Linked DNA regions of Homo sapiens: region 1 is linked to region 2. The links are contacts of gene promoters, found by promoter capture Hi-C in blood cells and fetal thymus (Javierre and others, 2016). All regions are on one chromosome and are shown on one strand. Each heading gives the region's core, a stretch centred on a gene start or on the middle of the fragment in contact. The rest is flanking DNA. Distances are from core to core; before and after follow the strand shown.

The links. Contacts are between HindIII fragments. The CHiCAGO score rates a contact against its expected background, and 5 or more counts as called.
Region 1: a fragment that was not itself captured here is called in contact with the fragment with the promoter of CAPN11 in region 2 in 1 of 17 cell types (naive B cells); the score reaches 6.5 in naive B cells.

What each region holds. Positions count from the first base shown.
Region 1 is chr6:44,307,286-44,310,227 of GRCh38, forward strand. It overlaps AARS2 (alanyl-tRNA synthetase 2, mitochondrial), which reads right to left. Exons shown (of 22, transcript NM_020745.4): 6 at 1-109. LOC124901322 (a long non-coding RNA gene) reads left to right here. Exons shown (of 3, transcript XR_007059594.1): 2 at 1-156. Among named protein-coding and RNA genes, the nearest start is that of AARS2, 4.6 kb to the right of the region's middle. The HindIII fragment of the contact is 1,693 bases long and covers 666-2,358 here.
Region 2 is chr6:44,157,421-44,160,235 of GRCh38, forward strand. It overlaps CAPN11 (calpain 11), which reads left to right and starts at 1,400. Exons shown (of 23, transcript NM_007058.4): 1 at 1,400-1,444. The coding sequence starts at 1,429. LOC107986599 (a long non-coding RNA gene) reads right to left here and starts at 1,183. Exons shown (of 3, transcript XR_002956350.2): 1 at 1,165-1,183. RefSeq lists an enhancer at 2,577-2,746. The HindIII fragment of the contact is 9,288 bases long and covers 1-2,815 here.

The sequences.
Region 1 (2,942 bases), core at 262-2,761, 150 kb after region 2:
TGCAGACACTGAGTGTGCGGATGTGGTCAGCCACCACGCGGTACGCTGTGTCTGTGCGCCCCTCGTCTGCCACCCCTACTCGGCCCAAGTAAGGGGGTGCCCTGCAGCCCTGGGAAGCAGAAGAGTCAGCCAGTGGCCCTGCCTGACCTGGCCCAGGTGGGTGCTCTTTATCGCCTCTAGAGCATCTGCCCTCAGCCCTAAAGCCAACCACATCCAGAATGGCCTTGCCAGTCCAGTCCTGGGCTGAGAAGCCTCACAGATGAGCACAAGCCAGGCCCTGCCCTCACGGGGCTCATATTTGGTGCTACAAGTGAACATATCTGTGACCATTTACTGAATTTCTACTATCAGAACTGGGTGAGTACTTGAACAACATGGCCTCGAATCCCCAAAACAGCCCATTCCAGGAGGTATTAGCATGCTTGCTTTAAAGAAGAAGAAGCTGAGGCTCAGAGGAACTCAGTGACACAAGGCTACCCAGCTCTCAAGGAGCAGATCTGAGATCTCAGCCGGGCCTGTTGGACTCCAGGTGCTCTCCACTACCTGTTCTTGCCTCTCCCATCTTTTGTGGGGGTGGGCAGGGAGGGAGAGTGTAAGCTACATACACGGAAATGCTCCAAAGCAGGGAGCTTGATTCACTTACCACCAAACCTCTCTCTTCCCCAAGCTTCTTCGTCTAACAGTCATGCCATTCACTGTGTTGCTCAAGTCAATAGCCTGGGAGCCATCTTTGAATTCTTTTTCCCCTACCCGTCATGATCCATCAGTGGTTCCTTTTGCTCCTACCTCCATGACATCTCTCAAATCAATCTACTTGTCTCTACTTCCACTGCTATTATCCGAAGCATGCCCTGTGGTCCTTGCCTGGACCGATAATAGCCTCCCAACTGATTCCTAAGTTTCTGCTCTCATCTCCCTCCAGCTCATCCTCCACACAGCAACAGGAGTAGCCTTTTAAAAGTGTACATCAGGCTGGGCGCGGTGGCTCACACCTGTAATCTCAACACTTTGGGAGGCTGAGGCGGGTGGATCACCTGAGGTCAGGAGTTTGAGACCAGCCTGGCCAATCCTGGTGAAACCCCATCTGTACTAAAAATACAAAAATTAGTCAGGTGTGTTGGCGGGTGCCTGTAATCCCAGCTACTCTGGAGGCTGAGGCACGAGAATTGCTTGAGCCCCGGAGGCAGAGGTTGCAGTGAGCCGAGATCATGCCACTGCACTCCAGCCTGGACAACAGAGCAAGCAAGACTCTGTCTCAAAAAAAAAAAAGAAGGGTTCTCAGTGGGGAGTGTGGCATGATCTGATGTACACTTTTATTTATTTATTTTTTTTGAGATGAACTCTCACTCTGTTGCCCAGGTTAGAGTGCAGTAGCACGATCTCAGCTTACTGCAACCTCCACCTCCTGGGTTCAAGAGATTCTCCTGCCTCAGCCTCCCAAGTGGCTGGGACTACAGGTGTGTGCCACCATGCCTGGCTGATTTTTCTATTTTTTTAGTAGAGACAGGATTTTGCCATGTTGGCCAGGCTGGTCTCCAACTCCTGACCTCAAGCGATCCGCCCCCCTCTGCCTCCCCAAGTGCTGGGATTACAGGAGTGAGCCACCGTGCCCAGCCCTGAGAACTCTTCTCACCACTCTGAGAATCAAGGCCCCACTTTGGACTTTGAGGCCCACAAGACTGGATTCTGCCTTCTTCTCTGTGAGACTGTTCACAAAAATGGCCCTTTCCTAGGCATATGCCACTTTAAAATGGGACTTTACAGCTGTTTCCCATCAAGGGACAGAATCCATTTCTCCATCCCCTGAATCTCTGCTGGCTTTGTGACTTGCTTTGGCCCATAGAATACAGTGGAAACAACACTGTTCTGAGCCTATGTGTCTGCTCTCTGTCTTGGAACCTTGCTGAGCTGTGATGTGGACAAGCCCAGACTAGCCAGCTAGGTGATGACAGACACATGGTCCAGTCACCCCTACTGCCCCCAAACTGACAGCCAGCCAAGCCCCAGAGGAGCTGCGGCCTCTCAGCTCACCACAGATGGATGAATGAGCTCACACAAGACCAAAGAATGAGCCAGCTAAGCCCAGCCTAAACGCTAGCTCACAGACTCAGGGGGCAGATACATGGTTGTTGGTTAAGCCACAGAGCATTAGGGTGGTTATACAGCAAAAGCCAACTGACACATGTTCCTACTATATCCCATGGGATTCTCCTTTAGCTGGCTGGCCACCTTTTAGTTTTTGGCACATGTCAAGCCCTTTCTTGCGGGGCAAGGAGGGAGGGTATAAGCTACACACATGTGGAAATGCTCCAAAGCAGGGAGCTTGATTCACCTAGCTCCAAACCTCTCTCTTCCCCAAGCTTCTTCATCTCAGTAAACAGTCATGCCATTCACTGTGTTGCTCAAGCCAATAGCCTGGGAGCCATCTTTGATTTCTCTTTCCCCTCCCCATCTAATCCATCAGTACCAAGGCCCTTGGTACCTGCTGTCCCCTCTGCCTGGAAAGAACTTCCTGTAGCTGACTCCTCCTTTGGGGCTCAGCTCAAAGGTCATCTTCTTGGTGAGCCTTCCCCAAGCACCTTATCTAAGATTCCTCTGTACCCCTCCTTCTTCCTAGTTACTTTCACCCATGTTTACTGCCTGTTCACAATCTGTAAGCTATTACCTTGTTCTTTAACACATTTATTGATTGTCTATCTCTCATGCTAGCATATAATCTCCATGATCTCTTTCCTGCTTACTGCTGTGTCTTCTGTACCAAACACAAAGGATTTAACATAAAGTAAGCACTCAACACGTATTTTCTAAATAAATGAAAGAGGCAAGGAGTTAGGAGGAACATCAGGTAATAAGTAATGAATCCTAGTGTCTTGCTTGACGTCTTGGAATTCTTGGTTGGTTATTGTCCTCAGATGCTGAGAACACTCTGAGTTCTCAACAAA
Region 2 (2,815 bases), core at 150-2,649:
CCTATAATCCTAGCGCTTTGGGAGGCCGAAGCGAGTGATCACCTGAGGTCAGGAGTTCGAGACCAGCCTGCCCAACATGGCGAAACCCCGTCTCTACTAAAAATACAAAAATTAGCTGGGCATGGTGGTGGGCACCTGTAATCCCAGCTACTTGAGAGGCTGAGGCAGGAGAATCGCTTGAACCCGGGGGGCAGAGGTTGCAGTGAGCTGAGATTGCACCACTTCACTCCAGCCTGGGCAAAAGAGCGAGACTCCATCTCAAAAAAAAAAAAAAAAAAAAAAATCTGAAGTTATTAGTTTAAATCCTGGCTCGACCGCTTAACAGCTGTGTGACCCTGGGCAAGTTGCATCATACCTCTAGACCTCACTTTCCTCATCTATAAAATGGGAATAGCAATGTCATGGCCTCTGGCTGTTTTAAGGATTAAATAAGTAGGAAGTTCTTAGCCCAGTGTTTGGCACATAATAACAAACCATAATTAATATTCTCGTAGATGAGGAGATTGAGTCCCAGAAAGGAGAAAGGGGGAGGGCTCGCCCAAGGTCAGCTCCTGTTTCAGAGCTTGGAACAAGGTTCTCTGATCCCATTGGGTGCTCTCACACCTGTTCTGTGCCTGATTAGCACCAGGCAGGGCTGAGGGGCACTGGGATGACCTTGACAGTCCCTGTCCTCAGCCATCATACACTCCAGAGAAGACTGCACTCTGGAGCAGAGTTCTTAGCTCAAAGCATTCCCACTTTCCAGTGCAGAGGCAGGACATGTGGTCAGACCAGTGGCCTAACCTTGCCAGACTGGGGCTAGGCAAGGAGAGTGTTGCAGGTGGAATCGTGTCCCCCAAAAAGGCATGTTGAAGTCCTGGCCCCCAGTACTTCAGAATGTGACCTCATTTGGAAACAGGGTGGTTGCAGATGTAATTCGTTCAATTAAGATGAGGTCATACTGAAATGCATGGGACCCTAGCCCCATATGACTGGTGTCCTTATAAGAAGAAGAGACACAGAGGAGGGTGCCATGTGAAGACAGCAACACAGGAAAAATGCCATGTCAGTGAGAAAGGGGCTTTTGGGAATGAGAAGGCTTTCTGGATGTAAAGGTCAGGTTGGTGTGTCAGGGACAACCCCTTCCTGGAAACCTTGGGCTGAAAAAAAGGGACTGGGACCTACCCTGATGGGATGACCGTGATACAGTGAGGACAGCCAGGCTGGTGGAGGCTGTGCAAGGCAGGGGTGCTGGGTCATCTGTCCCTAAAGCGGGTAGCCCTCAGCTGGGTAAGGGGCTGGGTTACTGAGAAGGAGAAAAGGGAAGGCAGCTGTTAAACCGGCTGCTGACCTAGGAATCCCACTGCAATGAGAGAGTTCTGGGGGGAGGGTCTCTTCTCCCCCTCCCACCAGAACCTTCAACTGTCAAGCACCGAGCTAGCCACCAGCATGCTGTACTCCCCAGGTAGGCACTCATGGGGCCTTGCCCCACTCCTGTACCTCCTGCAGGCTAGAGCCTCCCCCCAGGGGAGGAGCTGTGTCCCGCATCAGACTGGGTGCCCCTTGAGGGTACAGAGAGTGACTCTTCCATCAGACTGGATGCCCCTTGAGGGTACAGAGAGTGACTCTTCCATCAGACTGGATGCTCCCTAAGGACAGGACCTGGGCCTCGTTCTCAGACTGTTTGGGGAAGGATAGGCCACTGGTGGTCAGACTGGGTGGTAGGCCGGGCAGGAACTCTTTCTCCTCTCCACTGACAGTTGGAGTTGGGGAGAGGAGAGGGGCCGGCCATCCCACTGTCATGGCTGCTGGGGAAAAGGGTTTGTGTGAAAAAGCCCACGTAGAGAAGAAAACTTTAGGGAACAGAGAGAACCTCTCCTAAGCCTAGAAAAGCAGGTCCCTCAGCCCAGGAAGATGAGATCCTCAGGGTGGCAGGGGCAGGACTACCTGAGGCAAGCCTGGGACCAGACTCCAGGAGATGGGGGAGAGTGGGCTGGGGGGAAGGGGAGGGCTGGGCAGAACTGAGTTGTTCCTGTGGGGCTAGGGTGCACAGAGGGCAGCCAGCCTTGGCCAGCAGAAGGTCAGCCCTGTACCTCACCCTCAGCCTGGGGCACCGTGAGACCATGGGCCCCTAGACCCAGCCTCCCAGCTTCTCAGGCCCTCCCTGTTTACCTGACCCTAGGAAGTTTAGGCCTAGCTGGTGACCCCAAACCCAGTCCTTGTTCTTCAGAAGTGCCCTGAGCCCAGGAGTTCAAGACCAGCCTGGTCAGCATAGCAAGACCTCATCTCAAAATATAATTTATTTATTTATTATTATTACTTATTAGTATTTATTTTTTTTTAAAGTTCCCTGACACAACATCTTAGTTTTTTCCCAGTGCCGGAAATCAAACTGTCCTTAAATCTATAGTCCCCTAATAACAATGTATTGCATTTAGAAAATCACTGAGAGAGGCCAGGCACAGTGGTTCACGCCTGTAATCCTAGCACTCTGGGAGGCCAAGGCAGGTGGATCATCTGAGGTCAGGAGTTCGAGACCAGCCTGGCCAACATAGTGAAACCGTGTCTCTACTAAAATACAAAAATTAGCCATGCGTGGTGGCGGGCGCCTGTAATCCCAGCTACTCGGGAGGCTGAGGCAGGAGAATCTCTTGAACCCAGCAAGTGGAGGTTGCAGTGAGCCGAGATCGTGCCACCGCACCCCAAGCCTGGGCGACACAGCGAGACTCCATCTCAAAAAAAAAAGAAAATCACTGACAGTAGATTTTAAGTGTTCTCACCACAAACAAATAACAAGTATGTGCAGTAATGCAGATATTAATTAGCTCAACTGAGC